4 separate regions of the Homo sapiens genome follow, and regions 2, 3 and 4 are each linked to region 1. Evidence: promoter capture Hi-C in 16 types of primary human blood cells and fetal thymus (Javierre and others, 2016). All regions are on one chromosome and are shown on one strand. Each heading gives the region's core, a stretch centred on a gene start or on the middle of the fragment in contact. The rest is flanking DNA. Distances are from core to core; before and after follow the strand shown.

Evidence for each region. The method cuts DNA at HindIII sites, captures the fragments that hold promoters and counts their contacts. A CHiCAGO score of 5 or more calls a contact.
Region 2: a contact is called between a fragment that was not itself captured here and the fragment with the promoter of OIP5 in region 1, in 2 of 17 cell types (total CD8 T cells and fetal thymus). The highest score is 5.3, in total CD8 T cells.
Region 3: a contact is called between the fragment with the promoter of KNL1 here and the fragment with the promoter of OIP5 in region 1, in 6 of 17 cell types (fetal thymus, erythroblasts, total B cells and 3 more). The highest score is 9.1, in fetal thymus.
Region 4: a contact is called between the fragment with the promoter of RMDN3 here and the fragment with the promoter of OIP5 in region 1, in 2 of 17 cell types (erythroblasts and fetal thymus). The highest score is 8.1, in erythroblasts.

Annotation. Positions count from the first base shown.
Region 1 is chr15:41,331,086-41,334,523 of GRCh38, reverse strand. It overlaps OIP5 (Opa interacting protein 5), which reads left to right and starts at 1,933. Exons shown (of 5, transcript NM_007280.2): 1 at 1,933-2,284; 2 at 2,543-2,609. The coding sequence starts at 1,963. It overlaps NUSAP1 (nucleolar and spindle associated protein 1), which reads right to left and starts at 1,643. Exons shown (of 11, transcript NM_016359.5): 1 at 1,474-1,643. The coding sequence starts at 1,566. RefSeq lists an enhancer at 1,920-2,179. The HindIII fragment of the contact is 1,308 bases long and covers 748-2,055 here.
Region 2 is chr15:40,564,829-40,568,266 of GRCh38, reverse strand. It overlaps CCDC32 (coiled-coil domain containing 32), which reads left to right and starts at 3,225. Exons shown (of 4, transcript NM_001080792.4): 1 at 3,225-3,291. RefSeq lists a silencer at 871-1,050 and enhancers at 2,003-2,297, 2,777-2,826. The HindIII fragment of the contact is 1,999 bases long and covers 796-2,794 here.
Region 3 is chr15:40,592,333-40,595,770 of GRCh38, reverse strand. It overlaps KNL1 (kinetochore scaffold 1), which reads right to left and starts at 1,522. Exons shown (of 26, transcript NM_144508.5): 1 at 1,379-1,522. It overlaps TRS-GCT4-2 (tRNA-Ser (anticodon GCT) 4-2), which reads left to right and starts at 1,865; the gene lies at 1,865-1,946. RefSeq lists enhancers at 1,043-1,362, 1,583-1,802 and a silencer at 1,923-1,972. The HindIII fragment of the contact is 4,787 bases long and covers 987-3,438 here.
Region 4 is chr15:40,753,610-40,757,047 of GRCh38, reverse strand. RMDN3 (regulator of microtubule dynamics 3) reads left to right here and starts at 1,794. Exons shown (of 13, transcript NM_018145.3): 1 at 1,794-1,965; 2 at 2,258-2,451. The coding sequence starts at 2,265. RefSeq lists enhancers at 1,334-1,443, 1,534-1,653, 1,864-2,073 and a silencer at 2,189-2,403. The HindIII fragment of the contact is 1,997 bases long and covers 584-2,580 here.

The DNA of each region.
Region 1 (3,438 bases), core at 684-3,183:
TAGAGGAGCCACTAACCACTACAGCCCAGAAATATCCCCAAGGAAAACCCTTTGGTCATTCAGCCCCAACAGGCACTTAGGCCCTGATTATTTTGTTTAAACAATTTAGGTCGGGTGGGGTGGCTCACGCCTGTAATCCCAGTACTTTGGGGGCTGAGGCGGGCGGATCAGGAAGTCAGGAGTTCGAGACCAGCCTGACCAACATGGTGAAACCCCATCTCTACTAAAAATACAAAAATTAGCCAGGCGTGGTGACACGCGCCTGTAATCCCAGCTACTCAGGAGGCTGAGGCAGGAGAATCGCTTGAACCCAGGAGGCGGAGGTTGCGGTGAGCCGAGATGGCGCCACTGCACTCCAGCCTGGGCGACAGAGCAAGACTCCGTCTCAAAGAAAAAACAAACAAACAAACAAATAAAAAAAAAATTGTGACGATTGATTTAAGCATTTACTCACTGTCAGTATCACAGCCTGCAGGAGAAACCTCCAGAGTATATAGCAGTATTATGTGGGAAGTCTCAACTATTAACAAAATATATAAAACCGCTATCCTACATTAAATCCCCAAATCTTCTTCTAACATCTTGGGTTTTTTGTTTGTTTTTGTTTTGTTTGAGACTGAGTCTCTCTCTGTCACCGAAGTTGGAGTGCAGTGGTGCGATCTTGGCTCACTGCCACCTCGGCTTCCCAGGTTCAAGCGATTCTTCTGCCTCAGCCTCCCAAGTAGCTGGGATCACAGGCAAAAAGCTTGGATCACAGGCGTGTGCCACCACGCCCGGCTAATTTTTTAAGGGCCAGGCTGGTCTCGAACTCCTGACCTCAGGTGATCCGCCTGCCTCGACCTCCCAAAGTGCTGGGATTACAGGCGTGAGCCACAGCGCCGGGCCAACTCTCCAAACATCTTGTAGCCTCGGAGTCAAAGACCTTACTGGTTTTGATAGAGACCATCAACCCAACAGTCATCAATAAAAATTTACCCAAGGAGGTGCTCCCCTAAAAGTCGATTTTTTTTTTCTGACAGGTCCATCAATAAAGTATCAAGAGATTATCGGCAATATTACAAATCACTGGAGTCTGTTTGGGGTTTTCCAGAAGCTGAGCCAATTATTTACTTAATTGTCTAACGATTAACGACACCCCTTGTGCTTTCTGGGCCTGAGTTTCGTAATCGACGCCCTGAGAGGTATACAGTAATTTCAAAACAAAACAAAACAAAAAACAATAAACCATCCCTCGGAATAGAGCTTATCATGTGAGCACCCAGACAAGCCAGCTTCAAAATGAGGTGAAAACTACAGTTCCTCTTCCGTTTATCAGAGTTCTAACTGGGACTACCGTGAACCACATCTACTGCCCGAGGGGCAGGGAGAGCTGCCTCAGTCCCGGGCTTCCCTCTCGGTCCCTTCGCACCGCATCTCCCCGAGGCCGCTATTCCCGCCGCGCCCGCCCAGGGACCCGCACCGCCAGCGCCGTACCCTCAGGTTGGCCCGGAGACCCAGACTCTTGGCTAAGTTCTGCAGGTCACTGTACTTGAGGGAGTCCAGCTCCTCTAGAGAGGGGATGATCATCGCGATTCGAAATCCCGGCGATACTCGGAAGATGGATCACCAAACTTCGTCAGCGCGGTTCAAATCCCTGGCGCCACTCTTAACTTTGACTAGGCAGAAATTTATAGACAGTTTAAATGAAGAATGCCGCGCTTCCATTGGTTGAAAATGCCTCAAAGGCGGGGTTTCTAACCCTGACCAATAGAAAGGCTGATTTCCCGTCCCAACAGAGGCGCGCTTTTTTCACACTTCACGAATACGCAGGCGCCAAAGGGCCTGTAACGCCTGTTCAGGTAACGAGTGCGCGGACTCGGACTCCAGTGCTTGGATTGCCCATGATGTCCAATGAGGACGCAGGAGCTGTGCTTGGGGCGGGGCCTGGCGTGTATTCGAAAGGAAGGCGCCGGCTGCGGGAAGATGGCGGCTCAGCCGCTGCGGCATCGCTCACGTTGTGCAACGCCGCCCCGGGGGGACTTTTGTGGTGGCACTGAGAGGGCGATTGACCAAGCTTCTTTTACGACCTCCATGGAGTGGGATACGCAGGTGGTGAAGGGGTCCTCGCCGCTCGGCCCCGCAGGGCTGGGGGCTGAGGAGCCAGCCGCCGGCCCGCAGCTGCCGTCTTGGCTGCAGCCTGAGAGGTGCGCTGTGTTCCAGTGCGCACAGTGTCACGCAGTGCTCGCCGACTCGGTGCACCTCGCCTGGGACCTGTCGCGGTCCCTCGGGGCCGTGGTCTTCTCCAGTGAGTGCAGTGAAGCGTTCGGGAAAGGCAGAGGCTAGCCCGAGAGGGTGTTCCCGCTTTCTCCACCGGGTGGCGGAGAACCACCTGGGGAAGAAAACGGGATGAAAAGTTGGAAGCAAATAACTCCTTGGCCTGGGGATGGGGCAGGGAATCGGGGAGTCTCCTGATATTTACGGCCAGGATGAGTCTGTCTAGAGGAGAGATTTTCCATTTCAAGGCCCGCAGAGTATGGGTTCTGACCCGTGTTTGTCTTCCTAGGAGTTACAAATAACGTCGTTTTGGAAGCGCCCTTCCTAGTTGGCATTGAAGGTTCACTCAAAGGCAGGTACGTATTGATAATTACATTGGTCTCTAGTCCCTGACTTTATGAGACTGAGGATCGTGGAACTGACATGTACGAGGAGAAAACAGTTTGGGATGCTGCTTTTACCTGTTTGACTCTTATATGAACTTGATGTATTAATGAAATGAAAAAGTTGTATTTGTGTATTGGTTTTAGGATCTTCCTGAGGGCCACTTCTCCCAGGTGGCTTGTACAAGTGAAGTGAGGCTAAGAAAGATGTATCTAGTAGTGGACAAAAGAAAAAAATAACCTTTTGGTTTACAGTGAGAATAACATACTATAAACTACAATCCTTTTAGATATTAGAACTTTTTGATACAGGGTCTTGCTCTCGCCCAGGCTGGAGTGCACTGGTGCGCTCATAGCTCACTACAGCCCCTACCTTCCTGGCTCAAGCTATCCTCCCAACCTCACCCTCCGGAGTAGCTGGGACTACAGGCACACAGCACCACTCCCGGCTAATTTTTAAATTTTTTGTAGAGGCCTTAGTATGTTGCCCACGCTTGATATTAGAACTTTTAAGTTTGCGATTATGGTTAGTTTGTAATAAGCTATGCCAGGGCTAATTCTTCAGTAACCCCAGAAACTGGAGAAAAACACAACTAGAATGTTATGTACTTGAATACTGCCTGGTAAACTTTGCGACCTGCCTGTACTATGATTTACAAGTGACAATAAAGTAGTCAGTGAATTTGGTATTGCAAGGCTCCTCAATTTTGAGTTTTGGCTTTAACATTGAGACAATTCATTTCATTCTGACCAGTTTGATTCAACGTTACGGTTAAAATATAGGAATTCTTAGTTGCTTTGT
Region 2 (3,438 bases), core at 546-3,045, 770 kb after region 1:
CGCCCAGGCTGGAGTGCAGTGGAGCGATTTCACCTCACTGCAACCTCCGCCTCCTGAGTTCAAGCCATTCTTCTGCCTCAGCCTCCTGAGTGGCTGGGACTACAGGCACGCACCACCACGCCTGGCTAATTTTTATATTATGAGTGCTGGGATTACAGGCGTAAGCCACCGCGCCCGGCCAAGAATCTAACCCTCTTTGGTATCCAGAGTGGGATTCTTCCAAATAAGGAGGCATTTCAATGTTAGTTTGCCAAAAAAAAAAAAAAAAAAAAGACAGTCTAATTCTTATCCTAGGCATTTGTATTCTGGAGAGGAGAAAGGGAAATCTTTTTTAGCTAAATTCCTTCTTCAAGTCATTAGTCTCACCAAACTAACTGAGGGACTGCAGCTGAGGTATCCACAGCTGCAGAACTCCATATGCTGAAAAGTCTGATTCCTGACTACCTCCAGAAATAAGAGGTAGAATTCTCCATTGATTGTGGGGTATGTTAGAACCAAACTACTTCACAGGAGGGACATCATCTCTCAAGTGCATCATTTCATTAAGATATTTACAGTGAAAGCAGAACCTTATCCAAAAGAAAAGTATGTATTCTTAGCTAGCCTCTTTGCTCCATAGGATTGGGGTGGGAGAATTAAATTAGTTAATTCAAGTAAAATACTTGGACTAGTGCCTGGCAAAACTGTGGAGACAGAAAACATAGCAGAATCTTGTTCCTCCTCCCCTTCTGACCTACTAAATGAGAATCTGCACTTTAACATGATCCTCAGGTGATTTTTCTGCATATTAAAGCTTGAGAAGCACTGGCATAGACCATGTAGAGTAGACATTTGTCATATTCTGTAAACATCCAGCATCTTCCGAACACCCTTCTTTTGGGTGGGGAATTTCTCACATTTCATTACTGCCCCCAAAAGGTAGAAGCCAGAGCCTTCCCACACTCTCTTGCAGCTTGGACATAGGCATTTGACCTGGGCTCTATCTCTTAGACAGAGGCTTTGGTTCAGAGGCACACAGCCGCGGAAGCAGGCTCAGTGTGAAATCCGTGTCTAACAAGGTAGCATTGGAGGCATCTAATCTGGGAGGCCAACAGTCGGGGAGGTTCTTGTGTCAAGTACCCAATCGACGAATAATGCCAGCTATAGATGTTCAGTGGCTGTGGGGTGTTCCCTGAGCAGTCTCTCAGTGAGATTCAGATACTGTCCCTGGCTGTATAGACCTAAAGCCTGACTCTCCACTCACCTTGAGGTTCTGTGAACTATGTAATATTCTCCAATCCTGTGCTATACAATAGGATCACCATTAGCCATGTGCTGTACAATAGCCACATGTGGCTAATTAAATTTAAATTAATTAAAATTTTAACAAGTTTTGAAACAAGATCTCACTCCCATCACCCAGGCTGGAGTGCAGTGGCACGATTTTGGCTCACTGCAGCCTTGACTTCCCAAACTGAAGTGATCCTCCCACCTCAGGCTCCCTAGTAGCTGAGACGACAGACATGTGCCACCATGACTGGCTAATTTTTTGTATTTTTAGTAGAGACGAGGTTTTGCCACATTGCCTAGGGTGGTCTCAAACTGGGCTCAAACAATCCATCCACCTTGGCCTCCCAAAGTGTTAGGATTACAGGCCGGATGTGGTGGCGCAACCTCCGCCTCCTGGGTTCAAGTAGTTCTCCTACCTCAGCCTCCTGAGTAGCTGGGATTACAGGCATGCGCCTCCACGCCCAGTTAATTTTTGTATTTTTAGTAGAAACAGGGTTTCACCATGTTGGCCAGGCTGGTCTCGAACTGCTGATCTCAGGTGATCCACACCCCCTCAGCCTCCCAAAATTCTGGGATTACAGGCATGAGCCACCAAGCCCGGCCAGGAACTGAATTTTAAATTGTATTTTAGCTGGGCGCAGTGGCTCACATCTGTAATCCTAAAACTATGTTGTTTTTGTTGTTGTTGTTTTCTTTTTCTTTCTTTCTTTTTTTTTTTGAGACGGAGTCTTGCTCTGTCACCCAGGCTGGAGTGAGAACTATTTCCTCAGCCAAGTTACTTGGCTACTGATGGTTGGCTGATGTCTTTCATCACGTGTTTCTTGGGAGAGAGTAACTGGTGTTGATCCTGGAAGCTGGGGATGGGGAGGGGTCGATCTCAATGAACAAGCTGGTATCTATCCCCTGAAGGATATCAAAGGTCATCTCCTTTAACAACTACAACAACAAAGCATTCTGACACACACTTCTTATGACCACTCTCTCCTTTATGTACTCTGGCCACACTTCCATCATATACTCTATAATCCTCAACGCCCCCCTCCTTTTTTTTTTTTGAGACAGTCTTGCTCTGTTGCCCAGGTTGGAATGCAGTGGTGCGATCTTGTCTCACTGCAACCTCTGCCTTCCCGGTTCAAGCGATTCTCCTGCCTGAGCCTCCCGAATAGCTAGGATTCCAGGCATGTGCCACCATGCTCAGCTAATTTTTGTACTTTTAGTAGAGACAGAGTTTCACCATGTTTCACCCAGGCTGGTCTCGAACTCCTGACCTCAGGTGATCCACCTGCCTCGGCCTCCTAGAGTACTGGGATTACAGGCGTGAGTCACCGCGCCCGGCTGTCTATCACTGTTTACTGTTATTTGTAAACTTTTATGCCTCCATGGCGGACCCCCTTCCTACACTACTAAGCTGTAAGGATCTCCAGGACTTATATCAAGTCATATGTGTCTTAACTTCACGCTTAACACAATGCTTAGAACACAGCAGGTGCTTGGTATCTATTGACTAAATGAATGAAGGAAAGCTTCATAATTTGATGAATGAGACACGAGTCTCCTGGGAGAGTAAGGAAAGAAGCCGCCGAAGTGCTCTAATTTGGGTAACGAAGGGGTGAAATTTTTAGAAGACAAACACCGACAGAGAAAGTTGTGGAGGAGGTGAACTGGCTCCGGCGACTAGGAAAAGTCAAAAGTCTTGGAAACGACTTCCCTATCCAAGCAGGGACTGGAACCCTGGATCTGCAAGGAATCAACCTGGCCCTCGGGAGGGGAGGGGCAATGCTCAGGGCACGTGACTCCACCGTTTCCCGGCAACCAGAGCCCCGTCCACCGCTCGCCTCTTGCTGCTCCTCACTTCTTCACCACGCTGAGCTCCTCTCGACCAATCGACGCACAGAACATCGTCGGGTGGGAAGGTAGTTGGAGGACTCCTGGGCTCCGTCACTAGGGGACTCCGCCCCTCCCGATTTCCTCCGGGCTACAGGCGACAGAGCTGAGCCAAGCGTTTACTGGGCAGCTGTTACGGTAAGTGAGGAGGGGCTGGGGTGCCCAGCGTTTTGGATCTCCCACTCTGGCCCGGCCCCGGAATACCACATAGAGGCCTTGGGACCTGATTCATCCCGTCCAGACAGCCCTAGAGACCTGAGCGACTGAGGCCTGGGATCTGGACGC
Region 3 (3,438 bases), core at 273-2,772, 740 kb after region 1:
TAATAATCAGTTCTTTGGTCACAATAATGACATTTCAAGTGCTCCATAGTCCCATGTCGCTAATGGGTAGTATGTTGGAGTGCACATATAAAACATTACCATTTTCACAGGAAGCCCTGTTGGACAGCACTGCTTTACTGGCAATATCTAGAGTCAGTATCTTTTACAGTCTATTATTTAACATCGAACACATCATTAATACTACCATTCCAAACATTTTAATTCAATTTACATGTATTTATCATCTTGTAAAGATTTCCAGCCATTCGCAAAGTCAAGAATTATACTGCTTTGACCCTAACCTTTAATTACCAAAATTTTACCACATATTAACTCCCATCTGTAAATCATCTCTCCAACCAACGTCCACCTCAAATGCGGTCTTCTCCACAAATCCATCACCAAAAGCATCAAATAAGCTCTCCCTTTTCCGTGCTCCCACACCACTTTAGAATGTCCTATAATCTTTTACATTCTGTCTTGTATTCTAGTTATTTGTGTATATTAGTTATTTCCCTTTGTAAACCCCTCTAGGTTTGGGAATCATCTGTCCCCGGCCCTATCACAGGATAAGGAACCCAATAAATATCTACAGGATTCGACGGAAGTGAAAACATCAATTTTAATATCTAGACTGGAATAAGCTTCTGCTTTGGTCTTCATCCACATCCTTTATCTGTTAATGCCTATTAAACCTATCTGTAAAATTCCAATCGGCAATACTTTTTCCTCCCTCAAACTTGAGTATTTAAATAAACGTGAAGAATAAGGGCTTAAATCCTGAGGAATAATGAACAGAAGAGGATTTTTAAAAACTAATTTGCGCAGTACTAATATTGACTTCATTTGTTAAGGTTATTATACTTGCAGAAAACGAAAAATCTGTTACGTGCGGCCAGCACTCCGAGCAGACACCTTAAACCACGAAGAGCTGAGAATTTTAAAATCACTCATTGCTGTCACTTCATTTAGAGCCAAAAAAAGCTTAAGTGAGAAATACAAACAGCCGAGAGGTCCCTAGGGAAGAGCGGCAGGGGTGCAAGAAGAGTCCGCGAGCCCTGACAGAGGACGGCAGGGCGGGGCGGAAGAGGACGCCAAGAGAGCGACGGACAAGCAACCCGAGCCGGGTGGCCGGAGGGGCCGAGGTGCAGGCGGAGAAGTGTTAGGGAAGCGGGAGGCGGCACAACGTACAGGCCGAGGAGGGGAAAAAGGGCACAGTGTGCCCGGCCCGGGGCAGGGGCGTCTACTCGGCCCGGCGCTAACGGAGGCCGCCAGGCTGAGGGAGCGTACCCTACCTCCCACCGCAGGAACTTCAGGGCGCCCAGACAAAACCCGAAGCCTTCCCTGAAGCCCAGAACGAAAGAGTCATTCTCTTTACCTGCCGCGGCAAACCTCCTCGACAAATTTTGCGCAGACTTGTTTGGGGTCCACACGCTCTGAGTTTCCTTAGAGCGGAAACAGACAGCCGCCTCTAGCAGTCCGCTCACAACGCCCGGCTCGCCTCAGTGAAGTATTCAAATCTAACCGCCTAGGTGATGCGCACGCGCAAAGCGGCTCTACGCGTCGGCTCCGCCCCTTAGGTTCCAGACCAACCCTATTTCTAAGACTCCTTTAGGGAAACTACTTTCCCAGACTCCGTGCCAATTTTATTTCCTTCAGCTTTATCTCTTTTTCGACCGAATTTCCTCTGCCCCTCCCCAGTGGAGACCTCCCCCACAATCGTGGGAGCGGCCATCTTCTTTCGATTGCTTGCTATGGAAGTGATTGGACTTTGGCTTCCGTACAAAATGGCGGCTTCCATAACATTGCGTCACAGCCCCTTGATATTACTCCCTATAGCAATCAGGAAACAGTAACTTACCGGGACGAGGTGGCCGAGTGGTTAAGGCGATGGACTGCTAATCCATTGTGCTCTGCACGCGTGGGTTCGAATCCCATCCTCGTCGATGTGGTGGCTTACTTTTGCTTGTAACCAAAGTAAATTTGCAGAGCAGAATAAATTTTTTAATAACCAAAGTAAATTTGCAGAGCAGAATAAATTTTTTAATAACCAAAGTAAATTTGCAGAGCGGAAAAACTTGAATACTTATTATTTATTACTCAATTAATCTGGCACCATCAGTTTCAGGCCTGAAATGTTGAAATACAGTATTTGGAACGTTCTGACATCACAGATAAAGAAAAGGGAGGGAAAGAGACTTTCCAGGAATCAGAAATCATGCTGGATTTAATTTCTTTTTATATGGAGTTAACAACAGTGAATAGAATTCCACAATTATTACCATCCCATATGTTCCAATGCTGCTCTGTTCCAACTTTAACACAGCTCCTAACTGAGGAGTTTCAATTATTGTAGACTGTTACTCTGGGGTTTTTAACACCTGTCCTGATTATGAGATACCAGGTTTCACTTCAAAAGCTACCATGAGACACTTTATCCGGTATTTATTATCTACAGGCACCACATGTTTTACATGAATTACATCACTATAACCCTTGATCATGACAAATATTTTTATTACTCCATTTTACAGATGAGGAGACTGAAAGATTAGCTTGCCCGAGGTTATACAGCTTCTAAATTGAAGAAAGGAGAGTGTAACCCAAATCTACTAGACGCTGGCTTAATCACCCTTCTAATCTGTGCTGTAGATTAATAATTAGTATTTATCAATCCTACACTGTGCTGTAGATTAATAATCAGTATTTATCAATCTTTTGCAGTCATGGTTTACAGATTGTCTCCTCCACAAGGCTGTCTGCATTGCACCATGCTCCACAACACGGCCTCTGGCAGGTGCTTCAGCAAGGTTTGGGCACTGAGTATGGAAAGCAGTGGCCCCATTCTCTGCTGGCTCCAGTGGCTTCTTTCTGTTACAGATCCAAATCCGTTGGGAATGTTGATACCTCCTTGGGCTCAGGACATTGAGTCACCCTTCCTTAGCCTTGCTCTCCAATGCATTCTCTACCCTGCTGCTAGGAAGGGTTTCTGCTGGGTTCCACGCATTTCCAAGGGGTCCATGGATAGAATTCAGTGGGTTATTTGGTTCAGAAAAAGATTTCATCCTTATTTCCACACTCCCTAATTGAAAGCACATCCTTCAATAACGGTAAGCAACTAACTACAGTAATATTAACCTTATCCATTATTTTGTCACCAATAGAAATCACAGATATTTTTATATCAGATTACTGTTATTGCTTTACGCTCATTGCTACTTCAAAATTGTGGTAATTTTTAGACCTGCTATTATGTCTTGTAATGTTATGCATTCATAAAGAAGTGCATGCATTAAGCTGGGCGCGGTGGCTCACACCTGTAATCCCAGCTCTTTGGAAGGCTGAGGTGGGTGGATCATTTGAGGTCAGGAGTTCAAGACCAGCCTGGCCAACATGGTGAAACCCCATCTGTACTAAAAATACAAAAATTACCCGGGC
Region 4 (3,438 bases), core at 545-3,044, 580 kb after region 1:
ACTGAGTTTTCTGCCACAGCTGAGAACACACTGTCAAAGTGGCAGGGCGTGCTGTCGGTCACGCCTTCTTTTCTTCCTTCCTCCATTCAGCTTTTATGGATGCTTTTGCATTAGAGCTGTGCCAGGCACAGGGGACCTGGGATGAATCAGGAGTGAACCCCATCCTGGAAGAGTGGGCAGTCCAGTGGTGTAGACAGAGTAGAAAGCAAATAATCACAGAACAGAGTGTAATGGGTCTGGTGCGGTGGCTCACGCCTGTAATCCCAGCACTTTGGGAGACTGAGGCAAGCAGATTACTTGAGGTGAGGAGTTCGAGACCAGCCTGACCAACATGTAGAAATCCGGTATCTACTGAAAATACAAAAAGTAGCCAGGCGTGGGGGTGCAAGCCTGTAATTCCAGCTACTCCGGAGGCTGAGGCAGGAGAATTGCTTGAACCCAGGGGCGGGGGAGGAGGTTGCAGTGAGCCGAGATCGCACCACTGCATTCCAGCATGGGCGAAAAGAGCGAAACTCCGTCTAAAAAAAAAAAAAAAGTATAATGGAGGCAATAGAGCCACAGGAGCAAAGCAGGGTGAAAAGCTTAATTTCACCAAGGTGGTGATCTGGGAAGGTTTCCAGAGGAAATTTTTATTTCCTCCAAAATAAAGTGTATATATATATATATACTTTATATATATATAAATATATTTTTTGTTGTTGTTGTTTTTGTTTATTTGTTTTGAGAGGAGGCCTCACTCTGTTGCCCAAGCTGGAGTACAGTGGCGAGATCTCGGCTCACTGCAACCTCTGCCTCCTGGGTTCAAGCAATTCTCCTGCCTCAGCCTCCCGAGTAGCTGGGATTACAGGCGTGCACCACCATGCCCAGCTAATTTTTGTACTTTTAGTAGAGACGGAGTTTCGCCAGGTTGGCCTGGGTGGCCTCGATATCCTGACTTCTGTTGCCCAGAGTGATCATGGCTCACTGCAGCCTCGACGACCTGGGCTCAAGTGATCCTCCCATCTCAGCCCCCAGAGTATCTGTGACTACAGTCACGTGCCACCACGGCCGGCCTCCTGTATTCTTATATGTATACAATATCTCACAATTAAAGGGTAAATAAATATAAGATCTAGTCAAGGGTATTGGGAGGACTGGCCTAGATATTTCTTTCACTAAACTAAATTTTAACTCTTAAGAAATGTTCACAATAAAATTGTTATCATAGTCCATAAAATCGGTCTTTTTAGTTGCCACAATTATAAGAAGTTGCATACAATTACAAGAGTAAAACAGAATTATAAGACAGCACGTTAGGTTTAAGATTTATGGCCGGGTGCGGCGGCTCACGCACTTTGGGAGCCCGAGGCGGGCGGATCGCACTTTGAGAGACCAGGAGAGCGGGACCCAGTCTCTACAAAATAAAAATAAAAATAAAATGTGGGGAGAGCGTGACGTTTTCCAGGTACAGAGGGGAGGTCCAGGCAGAAGCGCAGGTAGAAAGTGTGAATATGCTGAGCGTATTCCGGGAGCAGCAAGTTAAGCCGGTGTGACCGGAGGGAAATGGAGGCCTGGCTGCCGGACGGTGAGGGTGACTGCGCGAGCGTCCGCCCAAGAAGTCTCCCTGCCTTCCCGCCTTTCCCCTGTCTTGGGCCCCTTCTTGCTTTCCTTTCGCGCTCTGTGCTGACTCCGCCCCTCCGGCGGCGCCCGTGGCCCCGCCCCTGAGGGAAACAGACAAGGGGCGGGGCCGGCGCGGTCATCTCTCTGCGCCTTCCCGCAGGGCGCCGAGCACCTGGCGCCGCCTGCCTGACGTCACGGTCACTGACAGCGTGAGCCCGCGGCGGCTGCTGCCATGGTGGCTGGCGGCCGGGTAAGGGTCTGAGTGGATCTCCTGCCAGGCCAGAGCGCCTTCGGGGGCCGCGGCGGAAGGCCAGGAGTTTGCAGCCAGGGCGCCGGGTTTGTGGTCTGCAGTGTCGTGAGGCTGAGGTGGGGGTTGAAGGCCCAGAAGCCGGACTCTGTGACCCGGGTCGGGGGGTGTACTGGAGGGGCGGCTACGTCCAGGCTGGGTGAGAAGAGAGGCAGTGGGGCCCAGGAGGCTGGAGGAAGCCTTAGGGTTCAGACTGGGGTGCACGTAGTCGAGAGCTCAGGGTTTGGGCAAGGGGATACCTGCCGGGGTTCAGCCTTGAGGGTGGGTTTACCGGGTTCACGAATCTCTCTCTCTCCTTACCCCCGCCCGCCCGCCCGCCTGCCTGCTCCCGGTGACTTCTGCTGGCCGCAGGTGCAGCATGTCTAGACTGGGAGCCCTGGGTGGTGCCCGTGCCGGGCTGGGACTGTTGCTGGGTACCGCCGCCGGCCTTGGATTCCTGTGCCTCCTTTACAGCCAGCGATGGAAACGGACCCAGCGTCATGGCCGCAGCCAGAGCCTGCCCAACTCCCTGGACTATACGCAGACTTCAGATCCCGGACGCCACGGTAGGAGCCCGTCTCCTGAGACCGCGGTCACTGCAGACTAATGGGCCTGAGGTCTGGGCTGCTTTCGGTGGAGACTGTGGGACAGGGTAACGGAGAGAAGTGCTTTAGGGTTTCACTTTTTTGGAAGCTTGTTGAAAAAGCAGTCGTCGGGCTGGGCGCGGTGGCTCACGCCTGTAATCCCAGCACTTTGGGAGGCCGAGGCGGGCGGATCACCTGAGGTCAGGAGTTCAAGACCAGCCTGGCCAACGTTCAACCAGATGTCAACATGGTGAAACCCCATCTCTACTAAAAATACAAAAATTAGCCGGGCGTGGTGGCGCGGCCTGTAGTCCCAGCTACTGGGGAGGCTGAGGCACGAGAATCGCTTGAACCTGGTAGGCGGAGGCCGCAGTGAGCTGAGGTTGCGCCACTGCACTCCAGCCTGGGTGACAGAGTGGGACTCTGTCTCAAAAAAAAAAAAAAAAAAAAAGCAGTCGTGGTTTTCTCTACTCTTTCGCCTGTACTCACAAGAAAGTATATTTCAAAAAGACTGTTTAACTTTCACTTTTAGTTCTGGCCACAATAGTGCTATGTGGGTATTAAAGGCACTTGCTTAGTGTTGGGTGAGGTGTGTAATAAGTAGAGGAAGAGTCCAAAAGAGGGCAAAAAGAATAATCTTGTAGGGATTAAAAGTCTTGAGGCTTATGTATTAAATCATATATTAGAATTTGAAGACAACTTGGCAACTATCAAGACAACTTGGCAACTATCTCATTCAAGTTTTTTTTTCTTTTTATCCCTCCTATGAGGAAACCAAGATTCAAAAAGATGGTATAACTTTCCTGAGGCTGTCACAGATTAAGTGGCAAGGTTGGGCCTGGTCACCTGGTCCAGTGGACTTTCTACGGCATAGGGCTAGGAGCACGCTTAATGCAATTGAAGCTGAATGTGGCTGGCAGCCTGTACAGCTGAAATGAGTAGTTCTTGCAGATTTGTCAATTCATTTGA